2 separate regions of the Homo sapiens genome follow, and region 1 is linked to region 2. Evidence: promoter capture Hi-C in 16 types of primary human blood cells and fetal thymus (Javierre and others, 2016). All regions are on one chromosome and are shown on one strand. The core of a region is centred on a gene start or on the middle of the fragment in contact, and the rest is flanking DNA. Distances in the headings are between cores, read along the strand shown.

Region 1 (6,795 bases), core at 1,011-3,510, 160 kb after region 2:
TGCAGAGAGATTGGAACTACAGCAAAGGTATGAACAGGTGTCACGGGGACACAGAAGAAAGAGCAGTTACTCTTCCGGAAGGTTGGAGAAGATTTTGTGAAGGTGGGGATGTTTGATTTGAACCTTGAAGAACAAGCAGAGACCCAAGAAGTACAGAAGAGGGGAGGTGGAAATAGCATGAACGAGGTGGGGCATGGTGAGTAGTCTAGTATGGAGTGGGAAGGAGGAATAGCAATGAGCATTTATTGAGCACCTACTAATCACTGGATTCTGTGCTAGGTGCTCTGCATATATATTATCTCACTTAATCCTCACAGCAATCTGAGAAGGTAGGTACTGATGTGGGAACTAACATTTGGAGAGAACAGATGGTTGAACCAGGATTTGAATCAGGTTTGTTTGACTCCAAACTCCATGCTCTTTTTTTTTTAATCATGCCAGTGGTTTTCCCAGTATATTCTACAAAATTTTTAGGGTTCTGAGGAGGTGCTTTAGGGACACGTATAATTTTAGTTTCGTATTTAAAATATATTATAATCAACAGACACTGAAATGTGTTATGTAACAAAAAAAAGCTTTCCTTCCATCTCTGTGCATATTTTTGAGTTTCTTGTAAATGTGTCATTGATTAGAAGGACTGCACAGTCTGCTCAGGTCTGTCTATGTAAAAGCACACACCCATGCCCACCAGCCTTCATTACAAGGTCAGTGGGACTTCCAATCCAAGAGGGTTGACTAAATGCACATGGGCTTATCTTTACCTCTTCCAGAAATGTCTTTGTAATAAATAATAAACATATCAATGCTTCCAAAGGAGAATTTGAATTGGGAGGGGGCACCTGTGGACAAGAGAAATCCCAACAAATTTCTGGAGAAGTGGTTCGATGGGGAAGGATGACTGAGTAAGCAGGACAGAGGAAGCTGCTGTGTGGAATGCACATGGCTGGGTTTGCAGCCAAAGAGGGAGCTGACCCACCAGCAGAGGCACAGAGAAGCTCAGGACTTGGATGTGCTAGGTGCAATGGAGGGTGGGAAAGGGATATGTGGCTGAAAAGGGGGAGCTTAATTGGAAGTCTAAAAATGGAACAGTTAAATCCCTGACTCTTATATGCAAACTGTTCAGCCAGCAGATGTTTGCTTTGTCCCCCATTTTGCTCCTTCCCCTAATTTCTTCTTTAAAGAAATTAAATTGCCTGAGGAAGACTAGGATAGCTGGGTTTTAAGGTGGCATCTGAGAACAAAGCACATTGCAGGCTGACATTTAGAAATCTCAAGGCATAAAGATCAGTTTACGTGGAAACAAAGCCTGCCATTCATCTCCTCTTATCCATGTACACAGAGCTTCCAGGAAAGTTTTCTACTGCTTCATTCTTAAATATGAATGGACAACCATAAGCCAGAAGCTATTTGAGGAAGCCTGAAATATGAAATAGAGAGACTAAGATAAGCAAAGTGAAAATAAGACCTCTGAGGAAACAAAGACAATTCATACGTAGAATAGAACTTAAAAAAAGAATTCAAGAAGACACTGAATCTATAAAACATGAGTAGTGATATGAAAAGAGAAACAATTAGAGAACACAAAAGCCCCAGACATAGAAAAATGTAATTAAAATTCATTGGAAATGTTGAAAGTTAAGGTCAAGGTAATCTCTCAGAAAATAAAGCAAAAGGTTAAAGAAACAGAATTTTATTAGATAATATATGAGACATAAAAAATTAATACAGGAGGTCCATGTTTGATTTATAAAGATTTCAGAGAGAAGGGAGAAATCAAGGGAGAGAATTTTCAAATAAATGACTGAACAGAATTTTTTAGACAAAACACTCCAGTCTTCAGAATAACAGGATTCATCAGGCAAGCCCCCAGCAAAAAAAAAAAAACACACAAGATTTAGAAATTTCAGAATACTTGGGAAAATAAGAAGATGCTAAAAGTTTCCAGAGAGAAAAAAATCACCTATAAAGGAATGAAAATCGGAAAGTCACCAGACTTCTCACTAGCAGCATTGGATGACAAAAGACAATGATGCAATCTCTTCCAAGTTCTGAGAGAGAGATTTTCAACTTAGAATTCAATACCTAGCTAAACTGTCTACTGGTTAAGAGGGCAAATCAAAGACACTTTAAGATACATGAGGACTGAGGAAGTTTACTTCCTATAGACTCCTTGTGGTAATGCTCCTAGAAAAAAAGACAGCAATAGAGGATGTGCAGCAGTAAAACAAAGGAGAAACCAAGAATGAGAAAAGCATGGAATTTTTGTCAGCTTATAAGTTAGCTTGGTATGTAGTTTTAATTAATTTGTTTATTTAGTGTGTGTTTTCTGTTATTGGGTTTAGGTATCAGGGTTATGCTAGCTTTGTAAGATGAACTGAGTTTTCTACGTTTTTATTCTCTGAAAGTGTTTGCACAGGGAATAATCTCCTTCTTGAATGTTTGCAAAAACAATTGTCCACATCTTTTTTTAAAAAACACTTTTTGGACAATATTTTCTATTTTCTTTCACCATTTTGTGCCTTTTGTGGAGGTCATTCTGCTACCCAATATTCAGTCTTCTTCCTTTATTGAAAAGAATCCAATTTTGCCAAGTTCAAAGTTCAATTTCATGGACTCCCTTTCAGAGAGTGGGGCAAGTGACACAGTTTTGGCCCATGAGATGAAAACACACATTTACTGAATAGAGTTTCTGGAAAAGCTATCAGTTTCCTGATAAAAAGGGACAGACTTAGCTGTCCCTTTGTCCTCCCTGCCTTGTCTGGAATGTAGACAGGATGCCTAGACGTGGAGGAGCAATCTTAAAAGTGTGAAGACAAAAGCCACTTTCTAAGGATGGTGGAGCAGAAAGGCAGGAGTCCTGCTCCCTGGCACCATCATGGAGCATGCCCAGCCCAGATCTGCCCCCCTCTGAATTTCCTGTTGCATTAGAAAAATATGTCCCTTTTTAGTTTAAGTTACTGATCTCAATTTTCTGTTATTTGCAGCAAATTCACTTTCAATTGATACAATCTTTCACGTCAGAGCTGCTTCTTGTAACACAGAAGTTTTCAGATTCTATGAAAAGGTATTGAATGAATTGAAGGCTCTGTTAAGGGGGCAACTATCTCCCCTCCCCATTCTCCTATCAGCCCATAAAACAGGAACTGACAACCTCTTGGAAGAATTGGGAAGGAACTTTTCGATTTTCTCTGTACAATCTTCACTGGTTCCTCTCTGTGAGAGGAGGAGGGACCTCTTGGATTGGTGTCGTTGGGAAAAGGGTATCAAGTGTGCATGGCTCAGCCTGTTCCTGGCTCTCTCTCTGGGACTGACCTGACTGCAAGCAGCATGTTCTCTGTCTGCTCCTGCCTCCTCCAGGCAATGAGCACCAGGGCGGGTCCAGCCCTTGCTTGGGAGGACTTCAATAGTCCAGCTGCTCTGCCGCGAGTGGGTGAGTGAGTTCAAGTCAGAGGAGAAGACACAGAAAGCTCATTTGGGCCTTGGGTCTTAGCCACATCCTCCAGTCCATCTGGACTAGCAATAAAGCTGACATTTTAATCCCTACTTGTCTCCTGTGACTATTTCTCAATTGGATCAGACCTCGGAGAAGTGAGGGATGTGATTAACTAGCACCCGCAAACCCCAACATCTGTTGAATATTTAGCCCCAGCGGGAAAAGCCAAAGTTAGATGAAAACACTGGTTTAAAATTCTGATAATTATTAGACAATACTTCTCTATCCTTGTTTGTATGTCTTTTGATCTTACTATAAAATGTGTATCATGTGGGTTTAAAAAAATTTTTTTAAATTTTCTTTTTGAAGGTAAGAGCCTGGATTGAGAGTGATAAGGCTCTTCTGAGTCTTGGCTACCACTTACTCACTCTGTCCCTTGACTTCTCTGGGCTTCAATTTTACCAATTATATAAAATGAGGAGGTTAGACTAGATGATCCATGAGGGCCATCCCAAGCTTCGGTGTTCTTTCATTCATTTGACCCCTTTTTATTGAGTATGTGTTGAGTGTGTGCTGGCAGCTGGCTCTGTGATGTACAAAACAAACCTGGCCCCTGCCATTTGGGGTTTAGAGTCTCATAGAAAAGACAGACATCAAACACACCACAAATAAGTGGACAATTACAAATATTTCACTTGTTTAGCCATTAAATGTTCCTAAGTGGTCATTTGGATTGTGAAGATTCCTACTTCTTCTCAGTTATCCACACTCAGGGCAAACCTTGCAGGGTCCAGCAGTCACACACAGTGGTGCCACTACTGCAGCTGTGTCCCAGCCATCGCTCTCGGGAAGACAACAAAGAGGCTTCCAAAGGGCTGGCCTTTTGGATTAAAAAAAAAGTTAAGCATTTTTTAAAAAGTCACAAATGAGTAACATGCTTGTTATAAAAATTTAAGCAATAAAGAAAAAAAAATTGAAAGGAAAAAATCTTTCTCTTGTCCCCTCCAAGCCCACTTGGAAAAAGAAATAATGGGTAGATGTGTGTCCTTCCATTAAGCTGCATATTTAACTGCAGGCTCTAGGAGGGCAGGGATGGCGTCTGCCTTACCCACTGCTGTATCCCTGGTGGGTGCCCAGGAAATACTTGCTGATTGAACTAGTGCATAAGTAGTAATCACACATAAAGGCTCATAGATAGCTATTTTTTTAAAGATTGAAAAGGAAATCATGCCACATATGTTTTTTTTCTTGCACCTTCCTTGTTTTTTTTTTTTTTTCACTCAAAAATCTGTCATGGAATCCCTCCATGTATTGGTTCCTAATTTACCCATTCCTCTTGTGCTGGGTTGAATTGTATCGCCCTCAAAAGCTACACTGAAGTCCTAATCCCAGGTCAGGCACTGTGGCTCACACCTGTCATCCCCAGCACCCTGGGAGGCTGAGGCAGGTGGATGACCTGAGGTCAGGAGATCGAGAACAGCCTGGCCGACATGGTGAAACCCTGTCTCTACTAAAAATACAAAAATTAGTTGGGCATGGTGGTGGGTGCCTATAATCCTAGCTACTCAGGAGGCTAAGGCAGGAGAATCACTTGAACCAGTGAGCTGAGATCATGCCACTGCATTCCAGCCTGGGCGACAGAGTGAGATCCTGTTTCAAAAAAAAAAAAAAAGAAGTCATAGGTACCTAATCCCTGGTACCTATGAATGTTACCTTATTTGGAAATAGGGTATTTGCAGACATGATCAAGTTAAGATGAGGCCATGCTCGATTAGGGTGGGTCCTAATCCAATATAGCTGGTGCCTTTATAAAAAGAGACAGAGACTGCAGCCATAAAAAAGAATGGGTTTATGTCTTTTGCAGGGACATGGATGAAGCTGGAAGCCATCATTCTCAGCAAACTAACACAGGAACAGAAAACCAAACACCGCATGTTCTCACTCGTAAGTGGGAGTTGAACAATGAGAACACATGGACACAGGGAGGGGAACATCACACACCAGGGCTTGACAGGGGTTGAAGGGCAAGGGGATTGAGAGCATTAGGACAAATACCTAATGCATGTGGGGCTTCAAACCTACGTGACAGGTTCATAGATGCAGCAAACCACCATGGCACATATATACCTATGTAACAAACTTGCACGTTCTGCACATGTATCTTAAAGTAAAAAAAAAAAAAAACTTAAAGTAAAAAAAAAAAAAAGAGTGAGCGTGAGACAGAAACAGAGACACAGGGAGGATGTCACACAATGACAGAGGAAAGATTGGTGTGATGCAGCTGCAAGCCAAGAAGCGCTGAGGGCGGATAGTCGCCCGTCAGAATCTAGAAGAGGCAAGGAAGGAGTTTTCCCAGAGCCTTGGAGGGAACAGAACCCTGCCGACACCTTGATTTGGGACTTCTGGTCTCCAGATTGCAAGACAATCCATTTCTGTTGTTTTAAGCCACTCAGTTTGTGGCAGTTGATTACAGCAGCCCTAGGAAATGAATCCCTGCCTCTTCAGGTGTATTTAGGTTGCTTCCAGTGTTGAACTATCATAACAATGAAAACTGCTTCCATGGACTGTTTGGAGAGGGGAGCCCTAGGAGGTTTTTTTTTTTTTTGAGAAAGGGTCTCACTCTGTTGCCCAGGCTGGAATGCAGTGGCGTAATCTTGGCTCACTGCAACCTCTGCCTCCTGGGTTCGAGCAATTCTTGTGCCTTAGCCACCTAAGTAGCTGAGACTAACAGGCGTGTGCCACCATGCCCAGCTAATTTTTGTATGTTTAGTAAAGTTGGGGTTCTGCCATGTTGGCCAGGCTGGTCTTGAACTCCTGACCTCAAGTGATCTGCCTGCCTCAGCCTCCCAAAGTGCTGGGATTACAGGCGTGAGTCACTGTGTCCAGTCCCCCCTTTTTTTTTGAGATTGGGTCTCACTCTGTTGCCCAGGCTGGGGTGCAGTGGTGTGATCATGACTCACTGCAGCCTCAACCTCCCAAACTCAAGGGTTCCTCCTACCTCAGCCTTCTGAGTAACTGGGACTACAGGTGTGTACCACCATGCCTGGCTAACTTTTTTTTTTTTTTTGTAAAGACAGGGTTTTGCCATGTTGCCCAGGCTGGTTTCGAACTCCTAGCCTCAAGTGATCCTCCCACCTTGGCCTTCCAAAGTGCTGGGATTATAGGTGTGAGCCACTGTGCCTGGCCCTGAGTTTATTCTTGTCTCCAGGAAACCCTTGGAATAATCATAGACCCTAGCCTTGGGGCCTTAGCATCAACTCATAACCTTGGCAGGATTGCCAGCTAAAATATGGGACACCTGAGTCATATTTGGGACATACTTATGTTACAAAAGTATTTGTTTTTTATTTGAAATTCCAGTT
Region 2 (5,929 bases), core at 148-2,647:
CCGTAGAGCAGCGCCTGGCCGCCCAGGAAGGTCAGCTCGGCCAGCAGGCGCAGCGCCACGCTCAGCAGGTAGCAGCGGCGCGCGCGGCGGGCGCGCAGGGCGCACGGCGCGCACTGGGCCTCGGGCAGTCCGGGGGCGCACTGCGCCGCCGCCTCAGCGCCGCCCGCCTCCTTGCCTGCCCGGTGCATGGAGTAGACGACGAACAGCACCGGGGGCGCCGAGAGCAGCAGGATGTGGAAGAGCCAGAAGCGGTAGTGGGAGACCGGGAAGGCGCGGTCGTAGCAGGTCTGGCGACAGCCCGGCTGCAGCGTGTTGCACACGAACTCCTCTTGCTCGTCCTCGAACACGGCGCCGCCCACCGTGGCCAGCACCAGGATGCGGAAGATCAGCATGACCACCAGCCAGAGGCGGCCCACGAGCGGCGACTGCAGCTGCACGGCGTCCAGCAGCGAGCCCAGGAACGCCCACTCCCCCATGGCGCTGGGGACGCGGGGCGGGGAGTCAGGGGATGGGGCAAGTCAGGGACCCCTGCCCCTTCCAAGCCTATCGGGGTGGGGTCCGTTGGACCTTCTCTGACTTCAGGGTGAGTCGTGAGGTAGGAGAGGCCCGGGTTTAGCGATGAGACCAGTATGAAACGGAGGGCCACGGGAGGGCCCGAGGGGAGCAGGCGACGCTCAGCTATGGGTTACCTTCTCTTTGGGACCGATGGGTGCTGGGGAGGATCCCCCATTTGCATTTTAGCCGCACCCCCTGAGCCGTCTCCGTTCGACCCTGGGATCCTCCAGATCCCAGATTCTTAGGAAGGACCTTGGAGATCAGCTGGACCAGCCCCTGACTTGCCTGGTTTCGGAAGCGGAAACCCAGCGGTGCCCTTAGCTGTCAAGGATGCTGTGGGAAGAGTGGAGCCTCGAACCCGAGACGCTAGACCCAATTTGGTGCCCATGGGAGGAGTGGGAGTGGCAGAGGCAGCGAGACCACTCCTTTCTTGGCCCACCATTTCTCTCACCATTTTTACTGCAGTGAACTCCTCTCAGGGTGGGGGGCTGGTACAGAGGCAACTCCGCTTTCATAACTCTCACAGGGTCCTTTGTCGGAGGTGTCCCTGCCCTCCTACCCCAGCGTGGTGGGAGTGCGACGCCAGGCTTCTCCCTCCTCCCTGGCCTCCTGTGCCTCCAGCCTCCACATCTCCTGAGATCCTCCCCACCCCACACTTACACAGGTCCCCACACGCCCCTGGTGCCCCTAAACCGCCACCCAACCCCACTCACCCTGGGGCCGGGACTGGGGTGTCAGAGCTGAGCCAGGGACCTTGGGAGGTGGCTGGGACCGGCGCCTCCTGCTCCCTCTTTCATTTTCCCTTTCGGATTTGGCCAGGATGGAGGACAGGACAGGATGGCTGAGAGGGGCTAGCGCTCCCCCTTCTCTTAAAGGAACAGGGTGACCCTGCTGGCTGGCTCCGCCCTTGGGAACAGGCACGGACCACGCCCCTTGCTGGGCTCTGTGGCCCTCACTCTTTAGCTAAATTTCCATCTGGAAATGGGGGAGGGGGGTAACCAGAGCCACATCCTTTATCGAGGAAGCTGGGGGATTCCTAGAAGCCCTTCCCAGACAGACCCTCAGTCTGGAGCCTAGATCCACTACGCACTAACCATGCCCTGTGAAGATGGTCTTCGGGGACAGAGGGAGGTTTGGTGCTGGAGTTTAAGGGGCAGCAAACATCTAACAGCTTCTGGTTCCAGCTCTGCCACCGCTCACCTTGGACAAATCATTCGGCGGTACTGAGCCAGGCTTTCCTGCCTTGTCAACAAAGGCGGCCAGTCCAGCTGACCCCCAAGTTTCCTTCCAGCTTTACATCTTTTTTGGAACGGGGTCTCTCTACATAGCCCAGGTCGATCTTGAACTCCTGGCTTCAAGTGATCCTCACACCTTAGCCTCCTGAGTAGCTGGGATTCTCTACTTCTTAATATTGAATTCCCAACCATATTACAGAGAACCAAAAAAACCCTTGTGCCTGCAAAAAAAAAAAAAAAAAAAAAAATCCCATATGGAAAACCATTAAAATATCCCAAGTGCCTGGCTTTGATAGTTAAATAAAATCTTTGGTTTCCTTCCCACTTTTCTGTTATTTCCAGCTTTACTATAATGAACATGTTATTTATTTATTTATTTTTAATTTGTTTGTTTTGAGATGGAGTCTAGCTCTGTCGCCCAGGCTGGAGTGCAGTGGCATGATCTTGGCTGAATGCAACCTCCGCCTCCCGGGTTCAAGCGATTCTCCTGCCTCAGCCTCCCCAGTAGCTGGGATTACAGGTGTGCGCCACCACGCCCGGCTAATTTTTGTATTTTTAGTAGAGGTGGGGTTTCGCCATGTTGACCAGGCTGATCTCGAACTCTTGACCTCAAACAATCCGCCTATCTCAGCCTCCCAAAGTGCCGGGATTACAGGCGTGAGCTACCACACCCGGCCTAACATGTTATTTTATTATTTATTTATTTATTTATTTATTGAGACAGAGTTTTGCTCTTGTTGCCCAGGCTGGAGTGCAGTGGTGTGATCTCAGCTCACCGCAACCTCCTCCTCCCGGGTTCAAGCGATTCTCCTGCCTCAGCCTCCTGAATAGCTGGGATTACAGGCATGTGCCACCATGCCCAGCTAATTTTGTATTTTTAATAGAGACAGGATCTCTCCATGTTGGTCAGGCTGGTCTCGAAATCCTGACCTCAGGTGATCCACCTGCCTCGGCCTCCCAAAGTGCTGGGATTACAGGCTTGAGTCACCGCGCCCGGCCTCATGTTATTTTATAATGTGAAAAATAGGACTTTTTCCCCCCAGAAGGCTCTGAATTGAGAGTTCCCTCCTACTGCCCTGGGTGGCGGGGGAAGCTGTTTTATGGAGAAGGGAGTAAGGGTGACCGACGGTGATCTGAGTGGTCAGGGAGGGGACACTCCAGGCTGAGATGTTTGGTTGTCTGCTCTGCCTTCCTAGGGGTCCGCCTGAGTGCATAGCAAAACCCGCTTCACCTATGCACCTGCTGGGCCAGTCCCCGTGTGGAACCCCGTTAGCTCCATATGCCAATGAGCTCATTCGATTCTCTGTCAATGGTGGCATGAGGGCACTATTTACACCAGGGGAAACTGAGACTCAGAGGGTCTAAGCCACTTGCCTGCTGTCGCGCAGCCGGTAAATAGCAGATCCAGGCCTATGCGAGGCCCAACTAGTTCTTGAGCCCAAGCTCTTGAGCCTTTCATGGAACTGTCCTCCATCCAGCCTGGCTGGGCTTCCCAGGTGCTGTCCCAGGGCCTGACAGTCCCCAGGAGGGGTTGCCTCTATGCCAGCCTTGTGTGGGGCTGGTGGGTGCAGGCACTGGAGGGAGGTCATGCCTGCCCCTCTGAAGAAGGGCAGCAGGACTCACCTCCTTGGTCACAGTTCCTCTCCCTATCAGCCATGGGTGCCTGTGTGGTTTTCCATATGCTGACGCAGACCCCCAGGTCCACTTTCAGGAAGGGGAAGGCACGTACCCTTCACCCACCACTCCCTCCAGCTCAGGGGCCCAGCCCCCGCAGGAAAAACTCTAGGTAAACTCCTGCTTGTGTGTGTTGGGGAACCCTCCTGCCCTCGTGCAGGCTTCCCTTGGGAGTGGGCCTGGGTGGGGGACGCTGCCCTGGAGAAAGTCCAAGGGAAAAAGCACATGCTGGAGCCCCAGATTCTGAAAACAGGATGTGGGTTGGGGGCGCTGCTGGCCTCACCCTCCCGACCTCCCTCTGCCCCTGGCAAAGCTGCTACCGGCCCCCTGCCCCCAGCCACAGGGGCTCAGGGTCACATCTCATCTCCCTTGACTGTCCAGGAATGGTCCCCACCCCGTCCTGTCCCGTGGCTCCTGCTGGGTCAGGCCATTGGCGCCACCTGGAAAAAGCCCATCAGCCCTGCGGGAATGGAAAGCAGCTGAGGCGGTGGGCCAGGGTGGGGTGGGAAGTGGAGAGCCTACAGTCACCCTGTGCTGTCTGCAGCCTGTGATGCCACAGGGCCAGACCCAGAGACTCTACAATCTCAGGCCCGGTCCTCCTTCCCTGATAGCGCCATCCAGCCTGAGAGGAGGTGTTGCTGACGCTGCCTCCATCTGGCAGCCGGTGGCCCATTCTCGGCCATGCCTAAAGACTGGGGCCGGGGGCTGGGTGCAGTGGCTCACGCCTGTAATCCCAGCACTTTGGGAGGCCGAGGCAGGCGGATCACAAGGTCAGGAGATCGAGACCATCCTGGCTAACACGGTGAAACCCCGTCTCTACTAAAAAATACAAAAAATTAGCCAGGTGTCGTGGCGGGCGCCTGTAGTCCCAGCTACTTGGGAGGCTGAGGCAGGAGAATGGCGTGAACCTGGGAGGCGGAGCTTGCAGTGAGCCGAGATGGCACCACTGCACTCCAGCCTGGGCAACAGAGCAAGACTCCATCTCAAAAAAAAAAAAAAAAAATCTGGGGCTGGGCTGAGAGGCCAATCCTGCCTCGCTCCGGTCTCTGTTCCAGACACCTCTCCCTGGCCATCGGATTGTGGGGCCACTGCTCATGTAAGACACACATAGGTGCACGTATGTGTTTGTACCCAGTAACTATCAGCCATGGTCAACCCCACCATGTTCTTCAACATCGCCGCTGGCAGTGAGCCCTTGGGCTGTGTCGCCTTCGAGCTGTTTGCAGACAAGTTTCCAAAGACAGCAGAAAACTTTGGTGCTCTGAGCACTGGAGAGAAAGGGTTTGGTTATAAGAGTTCCTGCTTTCACAGAATTATTCCAGGGTATATGTGTCAGGGTGGTGGCTTCACACGCCATAATGGCACTGGTGGCAAGTCCATCTGCAGGGAGAAATCTGATGATGAGAACTTCTTCCTGAAGCATACAGTCCTGGCATCTTGTCCATGGCAAATGCTGGACCCAACACAAACCGTTCCCAGTTTTTTATCTGCATTGCCAAGACTGAGTGGTTGGATGGCAAGGGTGTGGTCTTTGGCAAGGTGAAAGAAGGCATGAATATTGCAGAGGCCAGGGAGCGCTTTGGGTCCAGGAATGGCAAGACCAGCAAGATCACCATTGCTGACTGTGGGCAACTCTAATGAGTTTGACTTGTGTTTTATCTTAACCACCAGCCCATTCCTTCTGTAGCTCAGGAGAGCACCCTCCACCCCATTTGCTCACAGTATCCTAGAATCTTTGTGCTCTCGATCAGTTCGCTTTGAGTTCCCTGTTTTCCTTGTTCCTTTCCATGCCTAGCTGGATTGCAGAATTAAGCTTATGATTATGAAATAAAAACTAACTAAATAAATAAAAATAAATTATTTGTAAGGCCTGGCATGGTGGCTCATGCCTGTAATCCCAGCACTTTGGGAGGCCGAGGCGGGTAGATCACCTGAGGTCAGGAGTTCGAGACCAGCCTGGCCAACATGGTGAAATCCCGTCTCTACTAAAAAATACAAAAATTAGCTGGGCATGGTGGCACATGCCCGTATTCCCAGCTAGTCAGGAGAATTGCTTGAACTCAGGAGGTGGAGGTTGCAGTGAGCCAAGATCGTGCCACTGCAGGCCAACCTGGGCAACAGAGGGAGACTCTATCTCAAAAAAAAAAAATTATTTGTAGAGATGAGGGTCTTGCCATGTTGCCCAGGCTGGCCTGGAACTCCTGGGCTCAATTGATCCGCCAGCCTTGGCCTCTCAAAGTGCTAGGATCACAAGTATGAGCCACCATAACTGGCCACTTATTTTTTATTGTTATTTATTTATTTATTCTATTTACTGACATCCTTGAGCCATCACACTGCTGTTTTGTCTCCTGTGCCCTGCTAACATTTTAAAAAGTCCTTACAGAAATGCTGTCTTTTCGTGAGGCTTTCCCCAGCTGCCCTAGCAGAAATTTACCCCTCTGTTTCCTGTCCCTTCTCAGCTT

The links. The method cuts DNA at HindIII sites, captures the fragments that hold promoters and counts their contacts. A CHiCAGO score of 5 or more calls a contact.
Region 1: a fragment that was not itself captured here is called in contact with the fragment with the promoter of GJD3 in region 2 in 5 of 17 cell types (megakaryocytes, erythroblasts, fetal thymus and 2 more); the score reaches 7.5 in megakaryocytes.

The regions. Positions count from the first base shown.
Region 1 is chr17:40,523,460-40,530,254 of GRCh38, forward strand. LOC105371773 (a long non-coding RNA gene) reads left to right here. Exons shown (of 4, transcript NR_188623.1): 3 at 6-196; 4 at 2,985-3,543. Among named protein-coding and RNA genes, the nearest start is that of TNS4, 25 kb to the left of the region's middle. RefSeq lists a silencer at 1,138-1,432. The HindIII fragment of the contact is 3,374 bases long and covers 574-3,947 here.
Region 2 is chr17:40,363,340-40,369,268 of GRCh38, forward strand. GJD3 (gap junction protein delta 3) reads right to left here and starts at 1,398. Exons shown (of 1, transcript NM_152219.4): 1 at 1-1,398. The coding sequence starts at 476. It overlaps GJD3-AS1 (GJD3 antisense RNA 1), which reads left to right. Exons shown (of 1, transcript NR_186704.1): 1 at 1-2,096. It also overlaps the pseudogene PPIAP54. The HindIII fragment of the contact is 7,280 bases long and covers 1-5,275 here.